Linked DNA regions of Homo sapiens: regions 1, 2, 3, 4, 5 and 7 are each linked to region 6. The links are contacts of gene promoters, found by promoter capture Hi-C in blood cells and fetal thymus (Javierre and others, 2016). All regions are on one chromosome and are shown on one strand. Each heading gives the region's core, a stretch centred on a gene start or on the middle of the fragment in contact. The rest is flanking DNA. Distances are from core to core; before and after follow the strand shown.

Region 1 (2,700 bases), core at 143-2,642, 2.2 Mb before region 6:
CATGTATGGACCACTCAAATTTTTCGTCCCTGTCTATGTCCATGAATGACCATAAAAGCACTGATTTTGGAATTACAAATAAATTTTAGCAAGTAGGCAAATCACAAAACAAAATCCACAAATAATGAAGATGAGTGCATAACATTTAGAAGAACACTTATAAGAAATAACTCATATAAAAGAAAATGATCCAGAATAACTCATGTATAAAGACTAAAATTAGTTGTTCAGCTTTGAGAAATAATAATTAGTGAAAGAACTCTCAGTATAGGAAAAATTAGATTTTATTTAGAGCCCTATAGTAATGAAATATTTTAAGACACATTTTCTTATTTTTTTTTTCTGAGACAGAGTCTCACTCTGTCACCCAGGCTGGAGTGCGGTAGCACGATCTTGGCTGACTGCAAGCTCTGCCTCCCGGGTTCATGCCATTCTCCTGCCTCAGCCTCCCGAGTACCTAGGACTACTAGCGCCCGCCACCATGTCCGGCTAATTTTTTGTATTTTTTAGTAGAAATGGGGTTTCACCGTGTTAGCCAGGATGGTCTCCACCTCCTGACCTCATGATCTGCCCGCCTTGGCTTCCCAAAGTGCTGCGATTACAGGCGTGAGCCACCGCGCCTGGCCTTAAGACACATTTTCTTTTTAAATATACTCATATTTGTTAAATCTTATTTTGTAAACTCATTTCTCTAAAATGGCTTAGATTTATTACATTTCCTATGGGATAACTCAGGGTTATCTTTATTAGTGAGAATTATTGTTCAAAGTTGGAATCTAAGGATGCTCGATACTTTTAGGGTCACTTCTAGTCTGTTATTCACCTACCCATTCATTCATTTATCAGTCACTTAGGGAGAACCTTCTGTATTCAGATACTCTGCTAGGCAGAGGAGATATAATCACAACCAATTAAAGCCAAAGCCTTTGCCTTTTTGATGGTTATATTCCAGTTGGGGTAAAATTTAACCAATTAAATAGTGAAAAATAAATTGTCATACCACATGAAAGAATGAAACAAGTGGTGAAAATGTGAGAGACAGCCTTAGATATTAGGTGAGGAAAAACTTCTCTGAGACATTTAACCAGCAACCTAAAGAATGAGAAAACAGAAGAAGAGCATTTCAGGCAGAGAACACCAAATCCAAAAGCACAGAGGCATGAAAGAACATAGGACATTACAGTAACTAAAAGGCAATGAGGCAAGAGCTTCAAGGAGAAACATAAGAGGGGACTGAAGAGGTAAGAAGGGAACAGATCATGCAAAGGCTAATAGGTCATAGTATGGACTTCAGATTTTATGCTAAATAATGGTCTCAAAGCAATGTAGATAAATAATTTGATTCACATTTTAAGATCCCTTTGGTTGTTCTGTGAATTAGAGGGAGACAAGGGCAGTGAATCAACAGGTCTTGCTGATGGACTAAAGGTAGAGAGTGAACAAAAGTAAGCAATAAAGGATAATATCTACATTTCTGATTTGAAGATGATGGTACCTTTTCTGATATGGAAGAGATCAGGAAGAAATCAAGAACTTAAAAATGCTGAGTTTTAAGTACCCATGAGACATCAAGTAAAAGTGACAGGGCAACTAGATATTAGAATCTGCAGTTCAGAGATAATTTGAGGTGATTACATAATTGTGGCACCTAAATCCATAGGGATTAATAAAACCAACTAAAAAGGAACTAAAAGATAGTATAACACTAGTTAATGAGAAAGTGAAAAAGTAAAGTTTATGTAGACAACATTTCAACAAAGTTGGCTACAAAGGGAAATAGAGGAATGGCCAAAAACTAAGAAATGGATATGGAGGGGCTTTGTTTTTTAAGGGGGAGAGAGGTAGGGCTGTGACTTCTTTATTCGTTGTTGTTACTTTAAATGGGAGAAGTTTAAAAAAAAAGTGTGTGTGGTAACAGGAATAATCCAACTGAAATGGAGCAGGTGATAAAATACATTTTACAAATTTAAAGATAAAGAAGAGGGGCTGCACATTTAACCAGAGTTGTGGTTTGGTAGTATACAGATGAGAGTGATGGGCGCTTGTTTCAAGAGCTTAGGGTGAGGCTGAGGTACAGATGCTTAAGTTTTGGAGAGAAAGGATTTAGGTTGAAAAAGTTGTCTGAGAAGTACAGCATACAAACTCTGCCAGGCAGTATAAAGCAGCCATCTAAGGTCTGTGATCATAGATTCCAAGTAAAACCTACAAGTACAGTTTCACAATTTTCTTTAGCAGTCAGTGTTGCATATACAGTTTGATTCCACATAGCATGGTTCCCAGCTACTACATTTTGTATTCTGGTCTCAATTTCCAGTCTTTTCCTTTGGTATTAAGTGGTATGTCTATCTCAATAAAATGACGGCCTGCTTGCAACTGCTGCACTATGCTTGCCTTTCTAATATGGGCTTGGAAGACAGATACAGATATAAAAGTCATTAGAATGTAGCATGTAGAATGTACTCTTTTTGAAATGGGAAAAAATATATTTCTTAGAAAATTGAGAGTAAGTATTAACAGAATCTCACTTAAAAACTCAGTTGGGTGTGGTGGCTCACACCTGTAATCCCAACACGTTGGGAGGCTAAGGCAGGAGGATTGCTTGAGCCTAGGAGTTTGAAACCAGCCTGGGCAACATAGCAAGATCCTGTCTCTAAGATAAATAAATAAGCCTTTCATATTTAAGTTAAATATACAACTTTC
Region 2 (2,700 bases), core at 122-2,621, 2.3 Mb before region 6:
GGACACACCCACAGCCTATGTCCTCCGCCCACGGGCACGGGCAGAGCACCGATGCCATCAACAGCGCTCAGTACAGTTGTCCAGAAAACACCAATGCGAGAAAAACGAAAGAAACCCACCCTATTCAGCCAAGGAAGCACCACTGGGGAACCTAGGTTTTCTAAACACACACGCATACACAACAGGCACACACACACAACCTTGTTAGACAAGAGAGTTGAGTTCAAAGATATAATAGATGCACAATGGATAACTGAGTGCTGGAGAATGTCATCCGCTTAAACAATACTTTGAAATTGTTTCAGCCTGAAGACAGCTTTCTGGGTTGCTCCCTGAAAAATCATACCTAAGAAAAATAAAATCTCATTGATCCTGCTTTCCTTTTACTTTCTTTTTTCTTCTTTTCTTTTTATTTTTCAATGACCGAATAGAGGGAGAATTCCCTTTCCTCCAAAGGAGGGTAGCCCTGTTTTTGTTTTTTGAGTCCATGAACTTACTGTTCATTTCCTAGTGAAGAAGGTGCCAGGGAGCGGTCCTCGGCAGCCTCCCAGCCAGACAGCGCCACAAAAAGGCATTATTACACATCCCAAATAACAAGGGTTGTCTATATATTTACAAATCTGTTCAAACATTTAACCTTTTAACTTGCTAAATATCCCCCTCTTCTCTTTCTTTCTTGCGCTCTCGGCTCTCCCCCCTTTCTGCTTTCTCCTCCTTTTCCTTTCTCTTTCTAAAAGAGCTAGGGATGGGAAGCGCCTTTTCTTGAGTCTAAAATGAGTACAGGGACTCTGGGCTGTACCTGACCCTTTTTGAATGCCAATTTCGTTTTCAGGCAATTGCCTCTTTGCCAGCCAAAAGATCGGGATTGGATCACCAGGGCTACCTTTTTAAAGTAGAAGCTTCTATGTTGCCTTTCAGTTTTTAAACTGCCGCGGAAAAGCATCCACTAAATCGGAGGGATTTTCCAGACCTTTTAAAAGTTTCCAGTACCCCCAATCCGTGATGTTTCCTTCCGCGTTGCACCTCCTGCCCGTCAAGTGACTAGTAGAGGGTATCTTCTAAAGACAGCCAGAAAGTTTCGACAGTGTTTGGCGACCCAGCCAAGGCCGGGGTGACGCACACTCCTACTGCAGGGGCCAATTTGGAATTCCATCTTTTAGCATTTCTTACTGCCCAATCTTTTCTTATGAGACTAATAACCTCATTCTCAGGGCCAATGTAAAATGTGAAACTATAGAGCATGTGGGCCTTTAATGCAGCAGAAGAGTTAGATTCCTCAAAAATTGGGGCATTCTTACTTTGCTGCACGAAGAGAAAAGGAAACTTGTGCCTGGGCATGGTGGAAAGGCGCAGGCGGCGGGCTACCGATCCGGGCGGTGCCAACGCCCTACTCTGCAGCCAGGTGCCCTGGGTGGGCTTCCATTCAAAGAACCCACAAACACCCTTATCCCAGGATCTTCACTCTTCGCCCAGGACTCTACTGTGAAGAAATTTAAAGTGGCCTGGAGGGGCTTCCCCCTGCCATTCTGAGTTTCCTTTTCTAAAATAAAAGAATTGCAAGAAAAATCCATTGCCTTTGAAGTTGAAACAGAAAGGGTGACTTCTTGTTGGCATATTTTCTCTGGCCTAGAACAATGACTTTATTTATGTATTTGTTTGTTTGTTTGTTTCTGGGTAGTGGAAAAAATGAAACTGCAGTTTAGCGAGACATCATGCGTGTCTCGGATTTGTTCAGGTGTCCATAATATTTCAGCCTCTACCAGCTTTAGATGAGTGTTAGCCTCTGAGGTGCCCCACCCCGGATCGGCCCGAAAGCACCCGAGAAAACCCAGCCCTCACCTTGGAAGCTTGCCTTCAGCAAACTCCAGTTGGGTTTACACCTCTCGGTGGTACAATAGCCCGGAGCCCATGGGTATCCGCTAGTCGCTGACTCTGAAATGCGCCGGTCTGCGAGGTAATAATGACCGTTGCTTGCGGCTGTCAGGGCTGGCACGCCGCACCAAGGGCACTCAGGGCCGGCCAAGCCTTGAACAAGGGGAAGGGGGATATGGATAACGTATACGTTTTAAAGAGGTTTACTGAAAACTTTTACAGATCCCACATAAGAGATGGAAGGAAGGCTAAGTGAGTTTAAAAAAAAAAAAGTGTGTTTACTCTTTGTACCATGACAGATCCGGGAGGAAAAACGGTGGCACTAGATTATTATGCGGTGCTTTCTGTAAAATGCCATCAATTTCCATGCTCGTGTGATGGTCAGGACATTTCCCCCTATTGCACAAACCCCTTATGAAAACTGCAGGCAGTTTAAGAGTTTTCCTGTTCTTCCTGATCAGAAAAGATATTCATCCAGAGACATTATCTAAATCTGCAAAAGAATGAAGGCTGCTTGTCATTCGTCCTTCGTCTCCAGTAATGTGTGCCATCCAATTAGAAGCAATTTGAGCAATCAAGGCCGTTATGGGAGAAGCGGGTGTTAAAAATAGGTTTTCTATAGCCTGAGAACTCTAATTCGGAAGAAAATCTAAAATTACATATGTATCATTTCTTTATATAAAATAAATATATAATCTGAGTGTCTCCTGTTAGCTCTTATTTTTTCCTCCATGGTCCCTCCCCTATTGCCTGCCTTCCTTTTGGGAATTCATAACAAAAGTCAAGAGTAAAGCTCAGATGAAAAGGGAGTAGGGACCCTAAAAAAGT
Region 3 (2,700 bases), core at 82-2,581, 2.6 Mb before region 6:
CAGTTAATAACAGAAACTTGAGTTTGTAGCTTGAGACTGGAGTTTAAATTAAGACTTCATAATTTATGAGTTATAAAACATGGAGCAAGACAAATGACATCTCTTTGAGTTTAATTCTCCGTATCTGTAACATGATTAGAATAACACCTATCTTACTGAGGTATCTAAAAATATAAGTCAGTGTCCATTATGGAGTCACTATTGAAACGCTTCATGACATAGTAAATGTAAATTCTCTTCTAAATGTGTGGAATTTAAGAATCATCATATTTAAAAATTTTTATTTTTCTAAAGCAGATAAAACTGCTTCAAGTCCCTTCTTAATTGAATGGAGAGAAAATGTTTCTAAAAATGACGTTAGAAATAATTTGAGAATCTACTCCTTAGGTCATATAAGAATTCTAGGGTCCTACACATTCCAGGTTGTTCTGTGGGGCATCGTCTCATCTTCAGTCCATATTGGCTACCCTAATAGACTCATTGTCTGAGACAGCAGGGTCTCAGGTGGCTCCACTGTTCTAAATTGAAGACTCAAGTCATAACGTCCACCCTCTCTAGGTATTACCATAAATGCTTCCATCTGAGGTCTAGCCATCTCTCTATGATGTTGCATGGTACCAAAGCCCTGGTCCTTTCATCTGCAGAACTGGCAGGACCCTAGTTCCTTCCTTCTGCTATCTCCTAAAAACTAAATCTTTCTAAACCTCTCTTACTTCTCCAATTGGCCCTCCTAATCCTTGGGGGTGGGGGGTGGGCCTTCTCCCTATTGATAAATATAGCCCCATCATTTCTAAGAGTCTGAGTTTTTCCAAACCAAAGTACTGGATCTTTGGATCCCTGGAAATATGACAACGTCTAAAGCACAGAAAGACAAGGACTAGACAGTTTTTGCAGGATTATGTGAAGGGAAATAAGTATATCAGTAAGAATAGAGCACAAATTATTCTATTAATTACTCTGCCAAAATTGAATTCAATCAGGATTCTTGAAAGTGGGAAAAATACACTGGAATGCTCTTTCATCTCAATCATATTAAACATCCTATAAAGAAAGTTGTACGTCAACTTAGAATTTTTGTATGTTTAAGTATCAGGTGCTTTCTATAACCAAAGGGGTCAATTCAAAGAATAGCAGTCAGAACACCAACCATAAAACTGACTTTATGGACCTGAGCCTCATCAGAGTAATTTTGGAACTCTTCCTCGAGTCCCTTCCTTCTTAGGTAGCTGATATAAAGCTTGCTGCTTCTAGTCAGTTTTTCTTTCTTTCAGTGATGCTGTTACTTTAGTCACCTTACATTTTCAAGTTCTGGGCACAAAGCTACCCCTCGAATATTAACTTTCTGTGGCATCACAGAGTGACAGCCAATAACTGGGTTATTGGTGTTGCCACTTTTTTTTCCTAATACCAGAATTGTAAGTGGAGAAAAGCTTCCTTTGGTGGTCCCCAAGTCTAGTACTTGTAACTTCTACTAGCAGCTGAAATCTTCCTCACACTTCATATCTTATTCCTAGAAACTCAGTCAGGAAACCTTGACAAACTCCTGCTACCTCTAGAGCAGCGATCCCCAACGTTTTGGCACCAGGGACTGGTTTCGTGGTGTGTGTGTGCGGGGGGGAGGTGGGGGACTGGGGGGTGGTTTCAGGATGAAACTATTCCACCTCAGATCACCAGGCATCAGTTAAATTCTCATAAGGAGCCCACAAGCTAGATCCCTCGCATGTGCAGTTCACAATAGGGTTCAGGCTCCTGTGAGAATCTAATGCCACTGCTTATCTGACAGGAGGCAGAGCTCAGGTAACAATGCTTACCCGACAGCCACTCACCTCCTGCTATGCAGCCCAGTTCCTAACAGGCCGCAGACTGGTGCGTTGGGACCCCTACTCTAGAGGAAACAGATGTGTGTATATGTGTGTGTGTGTGTGTGTGTGTGTGTGTGTTCCTTATTCTTTAGGGACTTGGGCTTCTTCAAGGCAATTCTTTATCTACATCCAGCTCATACCCAAATTCAGGTCATCTGACCCAGAAGATCGCTGCTACATTTCTTTGTGTTTGCTTAGTAGTCTACTATTTATTAAAAAATCAGTTTGAATAGATTATCTTCTTTAAATCTCTCAAGAATCTCATGTTATAGACAGTTTTGTTGTTTTTATTTTACAAAAGAGGAAAATAGGATTTAGTGAGATTAAGTGTTTTTCTCCAAGTTAAGAGCTAGTAAGTGCTAACTGGATCTCAAACTCAGGTCATCTGACTACAAATCCTTGCCTCTGGCCCTACACAACAACTGTAGGATCCTGATTTATGTTTCACTTTCAAGCAGAGTATATAATTCATAATAGCTACTCAATAAATAATTATTAGCTTATTTATTGCATTTGCATAGGCCAGACCCTATGTTTTGGAACTAGTTTAGAAGGTAGGAACTTGGAGATCACATATGAATTTTACCAGGTAAACTCATACCTAATCAAATATAATCAGAGGTCAGAAGGTCAGAAGGTCTGAATTATTCTGTGTAAGCATCCTGCTATTACCGATGCTGTGATTGTCTAAGGGGCAGAGGGGAAAACATACTATAAGCCGAAATGAAGGAGATAAAAGTATTAACAAACTGAAACTCCAATTTTGCCCTCCCTTTCAGTAAGTTAGAGCAGCCTTCCCTACTTAGTCACACCCATCTCCTCTCACTTTTTTGCCACT
Region 4 (2,700 bases), core at 135-2,634, 2.6 Mb before region 6:
ATTCAAATTATATTTGGAGTCACACCAAGCAGATGTAACTAGTATTTGAAATTATTAGTAATGCATTGTATTCTCATTTGTCAATTAGTTCTCTGTAATGTCGGAATTCATAAAATATAAAAGAAAATCTATTGATCAGAATCTCACTTAAATAACAAAACGTTTGTTTTATTTTGTTGTTCGGAGAAAGTCTTTTAATATTGATTGGCTTATTTGTCCAGGTTAATTGAATATCAAATAATTTAATAATTAAATGTTCAAATAGCTGAATATTTAAGCATTAAGCTAATTAAGTATTGATCCCTGTGATAATAAATAACATTAAATAGCAGAGTTGTGATTATACAGAAATAAGCTCTTAAGTTTTTCTCACCTAGAAATTTTTTGTTTCATGCTGTAGTGAAGATTCTACAAAGTCATTGTATATTTTTAAGAAAAACTAAAAAGAGACCCACCAATAATTTGGAAACTGTTAATAAAATAAGTGTACTTTCTTTTAAAAACTGCAAAATTACCCTTTTGTAGACCAGAATATCATGTTTGAATTACATCTTTTAAAATAAAAATCTTGTTGGAACAAATTAGGAAAATAAGGAGGTTTTAAAGAAAGCCAGAGAAAGCATATAACATCTTAATGTGACTGAAATTAATATCTCTTTAATATGAGTAATATAGAAGAAATGGTTTTTTTAAATCCCCCATTGATTTGGGGAAGACATTATACTTGATTGTTGACTATTTCATTTAATTCCTTCACACAAACTTAAGTCAACTATTCCAAAAATCAAGAAAACTTTATCAACATAGTATATTAATTCTAGTTTTCCAAGTGTTTTCACAAATGTCTTCCCACAATGCACTGCCCTAAGTATTTAATCTGTGACCAAGGCTGGGTCACCAATAAGACCAAAGTGATAGCCACAATCTCCATTTCCATGTGCAGTCTCATCAGCCTCAGAACGCTTAGTTTTCCACCAGTCTCCAGTTACAAAGGGCTGCATTCCCACTTTTATGGAGTACAAGATTAAACACATAAAATAAAAAAGTAAAATAAAATAAAGTGCACTAAAACCAAATGGCAGATATTTGAATATAATTAATGTTGGACTTCTATTATTTGATTACACTAAAGATAATATGTGTCTTTGTTCCAAGAATAATATGTCTCTTTCCTCCTTCTCTTCTCTTTGCTGCTTGAGTGAATTGTTTATAAACATGTAACATTCTTCTGAAATGAACTGGGGATGGGGGAGAATGAGAAAGAATGAAATAGAGAAAGAGAAACAGAGAAAAGTGAGACAGAGACAGAGAAACAGAGACAGACAGAGGGAAAAGGAGGAAGGAAGACAGAATTCAGATCATCTGGAATCCAGAAATCTGATTCTGCAGGAAATACGATAGGAGGGCCTATACTACTTTCAAAGGTTAGCTTTAGTTAACCACAGCAACATACAATTCTATAAACTCTTCTGTCTCGGTTTCTTTCTCTCTTTCTCTCACATAGACATATGTGCACACATAACCACACACACACAGACTCATACAGGCCTCTGCCCCAAAATGAAATAAAGAGGGATGTATATTGCTAATCCTCAAAAACAACCATTTGCACCTGGGGTTGGCAATGGCACCAAAAAGCCAACCACTTTTTCTACATTACAGTTCATTAAAATGCCACTGACAAGTTATGTCTTTACAGGAAACAAAACGTATCCTGTTCCTTAAGGAAAATCCAGATAACTAGAACCAATACAAGCCCTTACCCCAGTTTGCTAAATGGGCTCAGGCGAGATGGAGGAACAGCCTGAAACACAAAACCATTATGTGAAAAATAACATTAGTAATTAATCTGATTGAATATTTAAAGCAACATTTTTTTTGAAGTCATCAAGATGTTTTTCCAATCTTCATCAGTCCTCCAGATTTTTATTATTTATTGAATGATCACACAATAATAATATCCCCAAGTATATAACCCATGAGTATATTGGTGCAGATCAAAATGAAAAAAATCTGCTAACAACTTCATCAGGAATCCAAAGGCTTAGGTAGAATTAGAATTCAAGACATCAAAAACCTCAACAACCTATTTAATCCTTTAACCACTAGGCCACACTCTCTTTCAAAATTGTTAATAGAAACAACATTGCCCTTTTTGTACAGCTGTAGATGCCCTATTGATCTGTATCACATAGCATTTAACACTGGATGATTTGGCTAGGAAAAGCAATGTTCACTGTTCCATGGCAAATCAGACAACAATGCTAAGATTTGCTATAGAACCAGGAAAATAGCATAGGAGATAGGGAAACAACAGCCACACAGAACAAACCTCATTTGCACGTTTTTCACAGCTATTTTTTACTCCATAAGAAAGCAAAGTAGTAGAGTGCAATTGTATTAAAAGTAAAACTATTTCTGCCTAACGCAGATGTGGATCATGGGAATGGAAACCTAATAAACCAACAGCTGAAGGCCACATTATTGCCCTATCCTCCTCCCCTAGCTCATTTAGAAAATGACATGTTTTTCTTCACAATGTTTTTCCCCTCCTCTCTTTTTAGTGGCAGTAATGCTGAATGCTCTTGACATAATTCTTCGTTCACCCCTGACAGTCATTTTTTTGAATACTATCCCAGCAATAAAACACCTGACCTCGAGTCTTTCAAATGGCCATTGGCTTAGGTTACCCCAATTAGC
Region 5 (2,700 bases), core at 128-2,627, 3.0 Mb before region 6:
TGGTTCTCTACCTGGTCAAGTGACCCAAGCCTTCATTCCTGAAGGATCTGGGGCATTAAGAGTTTTGCCTGGATTGGGTTGTTGTAATTTTACATTGACTTTAATTACTGGACATGTAGTACAGAGGAGCATCCTACAGGTTCTACTGCATTTCAGACATACTCAACCTTACTTCCATTGTGCAGTAGCAGTCCAATTTCCCCTTGCTAGTTCTGATCAGTCACCACAACTCTCTTCTTTGCCTGTTGATTCAGAGGCATGAGGAATTCAAAGTGGCTGGGCAGCAGTTTTTATTAATTTATTTTTCAATGGAACACTTCATGAATTTGCATGTCATCCTTGCACAGGGGCCATGCTAATCTTCTCTGTATCGTTCCAATTTCAGTATATGTGCTGCTGAAGTGAGCACAGTTTTCATTGTTGTATCTCCTAGTGGAAGCATTTCTCCCTCAGGAACTAAGACTTTTAGGCCAGTAGAGCATAAGGTAATGGGAACAGGAAGCAAACATTTTATTAGGGGGTCACAAGGAGTAATAGTGAATAAATTCATTCCCGTTTCTGCCCCTTATTCCTGGACCCATGAGTCCTTGCTATGGAAGAAACAGCTCTATCTATATATTAGATGTTGATTCAGAGAATGTGCAGCCTTCTGGAGAAGCTTGTCTCAGCACTGCAAAATATTACCATCTAGCTCGTGCTGTAACTAGGTTCTCCAAAGGCCATTCTACTGTTCTATCAAATTGTTTCAGGATAGTGGGCAACATGATAAGGCCTATACATTCCATGAGCATGGACCCATTACCATACTTCTTTTGCTGTGAAGTGAGTCCCTTAATCAGAAGCAATGCTGTGTGGAATCTGTGGAATCCTGTGCCCATGGATAAGGCATTCTGTAAGTCCAGGATCACAGTTTTGGTAGAAGCATTGCATGCAAATCCATACTTAAGATGGTCTTGCTTACAGAGAAGAGGCATCAAAGAACTCTTCAAGGATGCCAGGGCCCCCCTCACACATTTATTTCTCTCAATACTGGTGAAAGTTTGTTTTATGGATCCTTCCAGTGTGGGTGGATAGGTCTTGCATGACAAATCCACTCTAACATTTCACAATCTCCCTAAGCGTTTGAATTTCTTCCTCTGCATTATACCAAGGCAAGTCTGACATTTTCAGTTCACTTACTGTGGGCTACTTTTTAGAACGTGTTTCAGCCAACCAACTGAACAAATTCATGGTGCCCTTTCCAACTCTCTGAGCCGTAACACTAAATGCAGGCTATGCTTAGTGAGCCCATATCAATAAATTCAGCCTGATCTAACTTTATCTTCCTTTATTTCACACTCTTAATGTTCATTCCCACACATGTTTCCTGGACTTCTGTCTGTACAAATTAGAAAGCTCAAGCAGTTCTGTTGACATGTAGTGAACCCTCTCATGAGTCACACTTTTTACCTCACTTTTAAGGGCCTGCTGGGACTTGAGTCTAGCTATAGGTCTAGAAACAAAGAGAGGTGGGTCTTAGGACAGTCAGCATTGTCTTGCATGGCAACTGTCTCATGGGAGGCCATTAAACTTTCCTCAGGCAATGCAGGGTTAATCTCAGACTGGATTAAAAAGGCTGATGCCACTGGTAGTGGGGAGGCCACTAACACTGGGGCATGGGGAGGCTGTTTCCACAGGGGATGGGGAGGCATGCCTTCTGGGAGTGGAGAGGCCTCTTCCACTGGTAAAGAGACATCAGAATTTAGAGACAAAATATCCTCAGCTTTGTCAAGGTCTTCCCACACATCCTCATCCTAAATCTTATTCTTTCCCAATCAGTGCCCACACTTTAACAGCAGACATTCGACAAGGCTGGGAATTTATAAGAAATTAAATTGTAATTTAGTCTCGGGATGGTATTCTGCATTCAATTTTCAACCTAGCCCTTTGGCTATAGGAGATAAGGGTCTCCTTTAGGACACAGATAGAAACTCAGGTCATTTATGTGGTGCTCAAGCTGTGAATTTGAATCCCCGAGCTCATTCTTTTCCTTCACCACTTTGTCCAGCAACAGTGGAACAACCAGTCAATCTTATTGTATTGATTAGTTTTCCAAAAAAGCTTGGAATTACCATATACACAGCCACCCAACTTGTTGCTTCTTGTAAATGGTTGATTAGGAGTGTTCAGTGCAGGTATTTTGTGTATCTTTGCTACCAGTTCATGCCATAGACTATCAGTGCCCCTACGTATATATTTACTATAAGGAATTGGCTCACATAATTATGAAGGCTGAGAAGTCTCATGATTTGGATCTGCATTCTACAAGGTGGAGACCCAGGAGAGTTAGTGTTATAGTTCCAGTGCAAGGCTAAGGACCAGGAGAACCAATGGTAGAGGTTTCAGCTGAAGTGCAGGAGAAGAAAACAGTCTGACAGACAGTGAATTCTCCCTTACTTCATCTTTTGTGGTATTCAGGCCTCCAATGGATTGATGGAGGCCCACTCACATTGTGGAGGGCAATCGGCTTCACTTAGTCTACTGATTCAAATGTTAATCTCATCTATAAATATCCTTACTGACACACCCAGAACAATTTCCAACCAAATACCTTGCACCATGTGTTGCAGTCAAGTGAACATATGAAATTAACCATCACTTTAGTGAGTTTTATTGAAACAAAGCCACACTTGTTCATTTCCATATTGTCATCTTTGGCTG
Region 6 (2,700 bases), core at 19-2,518:
TACAATGTTTGTGCTTCATTCTATATAAAAATGTGATGAGTCTTGTCTCATTTAACATGTAAACCGGAGGTTAACTTCTCATAAACTCTGGAAACGCTTAAAGAAAAAAAGCAAAAATTATTTTAAAGCCAGAAATGTTTTCCTTAAGAGCTGCCCATCTAAATGTGCTCCAAATTTTCAAATGGAGCCGCAACACTGGAATAACGAGTTTTGAAACACAATCCGGTAACACATTAACATGTCAAACCAGTTGACTGTACTTAAAACACCTATCTAGTTGCATTTGAAAGTCGTTTTGGTCTCTGAAAGCTCCAAAAAAAAAAAAAAAAAGCTAGGAAGTGACTAGTAGGTGCAGTATAACAAAGCTGAGGAAGATCTTCCTTTCATGAGACCTGACTTGACACAAACTTGGGTATTCCTGGGGTCAGTCTTTTCCTTCCTGAGACTTTTGGAGGCCAAGTCCAGAACCGACCCACCCCTGACCCCATCCAAGGGTACCATGATTATCCCTTAGCAGAACATGGAATATTTTCGGAGTGTCGTAAGTGTATGGATAGTTTTACGGTACAACGTCTACATAGTGGGAGAGGGCAACAGAGGGTTAGAGGTTAGAACTGAAAGGTAAAAAAATGCAAGAAATTTAGGAAATCCAAGAGACAGACTGCCAATTAAAGTCACTAAAATGGGTCTCCAATTACACCGTAAAGCAGGGCCCTGGGAGAAGAGGAAAGAGTTTTTGTTATTTCCAAAATTTATAGGTGGGTGATTGCATTAGCAGCGGAGCAGCCGAGGTGGGGCCCTGACCAGGCACACGGATGAATGAAGGGATGTCCGCGACCTGATCTGAGAAACAAGAGTAGAAGCCTCGCGATATTTCATTCCCACCTCGCTCGCAACTAAGCCCAACCTTCTGGCAGTCCAAAGCCCTACGCGCTGACAGAAATAACCTCCTTAGCAGAAATGCACTGGTCTCGTTCCCTGCAGGGCATCAGAGCCCAGAGGGTGAGTGATCCGGGCAGGCTGCCCTAGGCTCCTTTCCCGCGTCCCAAACTACATCCCCTGCCTCGCCTCGGCCCCAAACGTCCTCCCTTCCACACACACCCTCCCTGGGCCCCGCTCCGGGGTGTGGAGAGCACTGCCGCCTCCTTATTACCGACCTCAGAGCTAAACTCATTATCTCTTCGCACAGAGACGTTCCTCTCAAGAACGATTTTAACCCCCTACCCAAGGCAGCAAGACGCCCACAGCCGTTCAACAGACACGAACGACCTCAGCGGCCTCAGGGACCTCCCACAACATAGACACTTTTGAGCTGGATTGGTTGAAATGTCGCTATGGTTCTGCCTATTAGGGGGCGGAAGCTTTACCAGTTCTATTTTCATTGGGTAGGTTTTACGTCAATCAAGGAAAAAAAAATTTTTTTTCTGTGCCCCGCCCACCTCCTAACGCCCCCCCGCCCCCCCAATCTAGGGCCGCTCTCGCCCTTCGGATTGGCTCGATGCGTTTTTCCCCGAATCCTTTGCGGGTCCGGCCTCCGATCCCTGTGTGGCTGTTTGGCGGGTGGGCGCTGTGTTCCTCTCTCGTAAAGCCGTGCGGTCTGTGGGCCGCCATTCAGAAACTGGATGGACAGCTTCGGCGGTGGGAAGGGAAGGGACATGCTGCAGGCCACCCTCCGGCTAGAAGGAGGGAGTACTTGAGGAACAAGGTCTGCGAAAATTGGCTGTGCTCTGTTCTAAAACTTGGAATGGCCTCAGTACCTGGGGAATGTGTTTAAAATGCAGACTTAAATGTCCGTTTCTCCATTCTAATTTCAGTAGGTATGAATCTGCGTTTTTACTCCTCACAAGCCTTCCAAGTGATTCTGAGGCAGGTGCTGTGGCTGTACTTGGATTATCACAGGGTTAGATTATCAGGCTATTTATGATTTAGCTGTATCTAAACCACCTTTCCCTCTCTTTCCTCCTTTGAACTGTTTGAAACGGATTTGTTCCCTTCTGTCTCTTATTTTTCAGTGCTGTAAGCTGTTAACACACATGAGACTGTCTTCACTACCAAACCAAGTCTCCTAAAGCTCACTTGAATGTCTGCTTATTCGTGTCTCTTACTAGGTTCAATTTCTTGGAGGCCGTGATTATATCTATTTAACGCTTTTCCTTGTACCTAATAAAATGTCTGGTGCGTAGGTGCTCGGTAAATTGAGTGGAATCTTTTGAAAATCCACAAAATACTGAGCTAAACAGCAAATCTCATAAACGTGAATAAAATAGCCTGAGGATGGGAGTTGAAGGCGGAGAATATATAAACATTATATGTTTAAGGGATGTATATAAAATTTTAGAGAAGGGAGAGAACACAAGATATGCTTCTTAAAGGAGGTGACATAAACGTTAGACCTAGAAGGATGGGCTAAATTTGCACAAGGAAAGATAGTATGATAGAATAAGCTAAAAATTAGCTAAGGGATAGCACCCCTAAAAAACAAAAGTGGAACTTTTATTTTGTTCGTATTTTAAATTTTAAAGTACCTTTATAAATCACCTTTGAGTCTAAAAGGAAAGAGAAATTGTAGTTACTAGAACATAATGATATTGAAAAAAACTATATGTTAAAATTTTAAGATACAGACCAAGTTATAGGAGAACATTATTTTAAATAAGAAAGAATAAAAATAGGCCAAGCATTTATTTGAAGATGTTAGAA
Region 7 (2,700 bases), core at 109-2,608, 2.2 Mb before region 6:
AATTGGAAGCAAGGAACTATATTAGAAATCCACTGAAATAGTCCAAGCAATACCATAAAAGCTTGAAGCAAAACAGCTTTTAAATCAAAAGCAAAATTTTTAAAATTAAAACTTTTAGAGAAAAAATAAATTAGGCATGAGATTAGTAATTATCTCTGTAAGTTTCAGTAAAATAAGACTTAGGTGATTATGTAAAGATAAAATGGAAATAATGGGCATAATCATTGGATAAACTAAGCAATAAAAGAAAAATCTGACAGTTACTAGAATACATATATATATAAAATATATTTATTATAAGAGAGAAATGTACATGCTTGAAGCAAAAGGGAAGGAACCAACATTAGGGAGGTGCTGAAGAGTTAAATGTGGGAATTTAACTGCTTAAGGGTCAGAAATAGATGAGATCAAAAACATAAAAAAGTTTATCTATTACAAGATCTCATATATCCTACTGAATTGAAAGCACATATAGGTATGGAGATGTATTAATTCTGAAAACAGAGGTCTCACAGTTTATATGAATTTGATCAGGGTAGTTGAAAAACTAGGTCAACGTTCTAGATGTCCTACCTTCCAGTAGATAGAGTTATTTGAAGAACTTATTATAGATTATTTCAAATTTCAAAATTCAAAATTCTCAGATCATCTCCTAAGAACCACAATGGGGTAAGGAGTTGAGCTGTAAAAGAAAGGAGAGGAAGAAGGGACAGCTAAAATTTGTGAAAATTTTGACAAAAGAGGAACATAGAATTGATTGAATGATTGCCAAGCACCTGCAAATCTGCATGATTCAGCATATTAGGTAAAAACATCAGAAAAATGATTGATTTAGCAGGATGTGGTGGCTCATGTCCATAATCTCAACACTTTGGGAGGCCAAGGCAGGAGGATTACTTGAGGCAAGAAGTTCAAGACCAGCCTGGGCAACATAGCGAGACACCCTTCTACCAAAAGTAAAAACAAAAAAATTAGCTGAGTATGGTGGCATGTGCTTGTAATCCCAGCTATTCAGAAGGCTGAGGTGAGAGAATCACTTTAGCCCAGTAGGTTGAGACTGCAGTGAGCCATGAGTGCACCACTGTACTCCGGCCTGACAAAGTGAGACCCTCTGTAACTGTAAAAAAAATTTTAAGGGAAAAAAAAAAAAAAGATTGATCATCATGGGACATTATACAGGTTACAAGAATAGGAAAATCCAGGATGATTAAGTGGGTAATCAAAAGAACCAAAGAAAGCACCAAAATGGACAAGGTTTGAAAGAAAAATTTGAAGAATAACCACACCAAGATCAGGGTCTTCAAAGGAGGAAAAAAATGTCATGTCATAAGATAAAAACCAGAATTACCACTCTGGCAATGTGACTAAGAGGTCTAGAAACTTGAGAAGAAAAGTGTGATGAAACTATGTATGTGGAACTGATGGACCCAAACTGGGTTTTTGAAGATGGTTATTTCCAATAGGTTCTTTGGTAGGTCTGAGGACTGTCTAATCCAGAAGAGAAATTCTCCCATATAATGCCAAAGCTGATAAAAGCAGCACAAAACAATCATGAAGAGACCAGCAGACTTCCTTCCCATAGAGCATCTCTGGTATCCCACTACTGTGGCCTTCACTGGTTTTCTAACATACCTGCAGCGCTTACAGACACAGTAAACTGGACTGGAAGTAAAAAATGGGGGCCTATACTAAATATGAAATGAAAGAACAGAAGAATTTGGTAGAAAAGCAGCTAAAGAATAAGAACACCTATTGATATCTAATGTACATTTATTGGTTGAATCCTATGAAATTGCTAATACTTAATTGTCTTGACCTACAAAATGGCAATTTCATATAGTTCATCTTAATATTACAAATAGAATTATAAAACATAATTGTCAACAACTATAATTTGAACTCAGATTTATCTATTTCCAAATTTAATTGTTTACAGAATTAATTGGGTTTGTCAGCACTGTTTTACAGCATAAAATACATTTTTAATTTCCTTAAAAAGTGAAAGCATAATTTTTTTGCCATTTTCTAAATCAGAAAAACAAGAAATTTAATGTCCTTCCAAAGGTCAAAAAGCATAAATCCTCAATACCTCAGTACAGCTTTTTGACCCTTTCAAAGGTCAAAAAGCATAAATCCTCAATGCCTAGATACATTCTAAATTTTTTAAAGATTAGAACTACAACAGTAGAATGTGTGAATTTGATGTAACTATCTTAAAAAATACCAGCTCCAGACTTTCGGATAAAGATGACAATATAAAGTCATTTATCAGATTTTGATTAAATTTAGAAATAAAAAGACATTTTCCGCAGTATAAATGACAAGGCAAATGGAAGACCAACAACAAAGAGGGAAAGGAAAAAGATACTTTTTCATAACAATAGAAAACATTCTAATTAAACACAAGTCACAAACCATTTTAACATATTGGTGTTCAAATTAACAGTTGTTTATTTTAAAAGATAACTTTCCACAGTTAAAAGAGGTTGAATAAATAATGTAATATCTCATATAAAGCAATGCCATAGTCATTAAAGTGTTGACAAGGAACAAAATATTCTTAAACATATTAACAAGCCACTTAATCTCTAGCCAAGACATGCATAAATGTTTCATTACAGTACTAAAAAGTAACAAATAAAAGGTTCAATGGAAGAAAGCTTCCTAAATTCTGTCACTTTTCCTTAAGAGTATTTTCTG

What was found. The method cuts DNA at HindIII sites, captures the fragments that hold promoters and counts their contacts. A CHiCAGO score of 5 or more calls a contact.
Region 1: a contact is called between a fragment that was not itself captured here and the fragment with the promoter of CETN3 in region 6, in 3 of 17 cell types (total B cells, non-activated CD4 T cells and activated CD4 T cells). The highest score is 7.5, in total B cells.
Region 2: a fragment that was not itself captured here is called in contact with the fragment with the promoter of CETN3 in region 6 in 1 of 17 cell types (naive CD8 T cells); the score reaches 9.8 in naive CD8 T cells.
Region 3: a contact is called between a fragment that was not itself captured here and the fragment with the promoter of CETN3 in region 6, in 2 of 17 cell types (total B cells and naive B cells). The highest score is 10.2, in total B cells.
Region 4: a contact is called between a fragment that was not itself captured here and the fragment with the promoter of CETN3 in region 6, in 3 of 17 cell types (naive B cells, total B cells and M2 macrophages). The highest score is 11.7, in naive B cells.
Region 5: a fragment that was not itself captured here is called in contact with the fragment with the promoter of CETN3 in region 6 in 3 of 17 cell types (total B cells, M2 macrophages and non-activated CD4 T cells); the score reaches 7.6 in total B cells.
Region 7: a contact is called between a fragment that was not itself captured here and the fragment with the promoter of CETN3 in region 6, in 5 of 17 cell types (total CD4 T cells, naive B cells, naive CD4 T cells and 2 more). The highest score is 8.0, in total CD4 T cells.

What each region holds. Positions count from the first base shown.
Region 1 is chr5:88,232,248-88,234,947 of GRCh38, forward strand. All of the region lies in intron 2 of TMEM161B (transmembrane protein 161B), which reads right to left. Among named protein-coding and RNA genes, the nearest start is that of TMEM161B, 35 kb to the right of the region's middle. The HindIII fragment of the contact is 3,354 bases long and covers 1-2,700 here.
Region 2 is chr5:88,142,505-88,145,204 of GRCh38, forward strand. No RefSeq gene overlaps it. Among named protein-coding and RNA genes, the nearest start is that of TMEM161B, 120 kb to the right of the region's middle. The HindIII fragment of the contact is 948 bases long and covers 898-1,845 here.
Region 3 is chr5:87,763,401-87,766,100 of GRCh38, forward strand. No RefSeq gene overlaps it. Among named protein-coding and RNA genes, the nearest start is that of LINC02144, 32 kb to the left of the region's middle. The HindIII fragment of the contact is 193 bases long and covers 1,236-1,428 here.
Region 4 is chr5:87,783,578-87,786,277 of GRCh38, forward strand. No RefSeq gene overlaps it. Among named protein-coding and RNA genes, the nearest start is that of LINC02144, 52 kb to the left of the region's middle. The HindIII fragment of the contact is 3,740 bases long and covers 1-2,700 here.
Region 5 is chr5:87,420,039-87,422,738 of GRCh38, forward strand. The region is part of intron 1 of LOC105379066 (a long non-coding RNA gene); the gene reads left to right. It also overlaps the pseudogene RNU6-727P. Among named protein-coding and RNA genes, the nearest start is that of CCNH, 8.5 kb to the left of the region's middle. The HindIII fragment of the contact is 1,442 bases long and covers 657-2,098 here.
Region 6 is chr5:90,408,488-90,411,187 of GRCh38, forward strand. CETN3 (centrin 3) reads right to left here and starts at 1,269. Exons shown (of 5, transcript NM_004365.4): 1 at 1,158-1,269. The coding sequence starts at 1,174. It overlaps LOC731157 (a long non-coding RNA gene), which reads left to right and starts at 1,513. Exons shown (of 2, transcript NR_105024.1): 1 at 1,513-1,817; 2 at 2,013-2,182. RefSeq lists an enhancer at 1,039-1,238. The HindIII fragment of the contact is 6,726 bases long and covers 1-1,359 here.
Region 7 is chr5:88,253,722-88,256,421 of GRCh38, forward strand. All of the region lies in intron 1 of TMEM161B (transmembrane protein 161B), which reads right to left. Among named protein-coding and RNA genes, the nearest start is that of TMEM161B, 14 kb to the right of the region's middle. The HindIII fragment of the contact is 2,599 bases long and covers 60-2,658 here.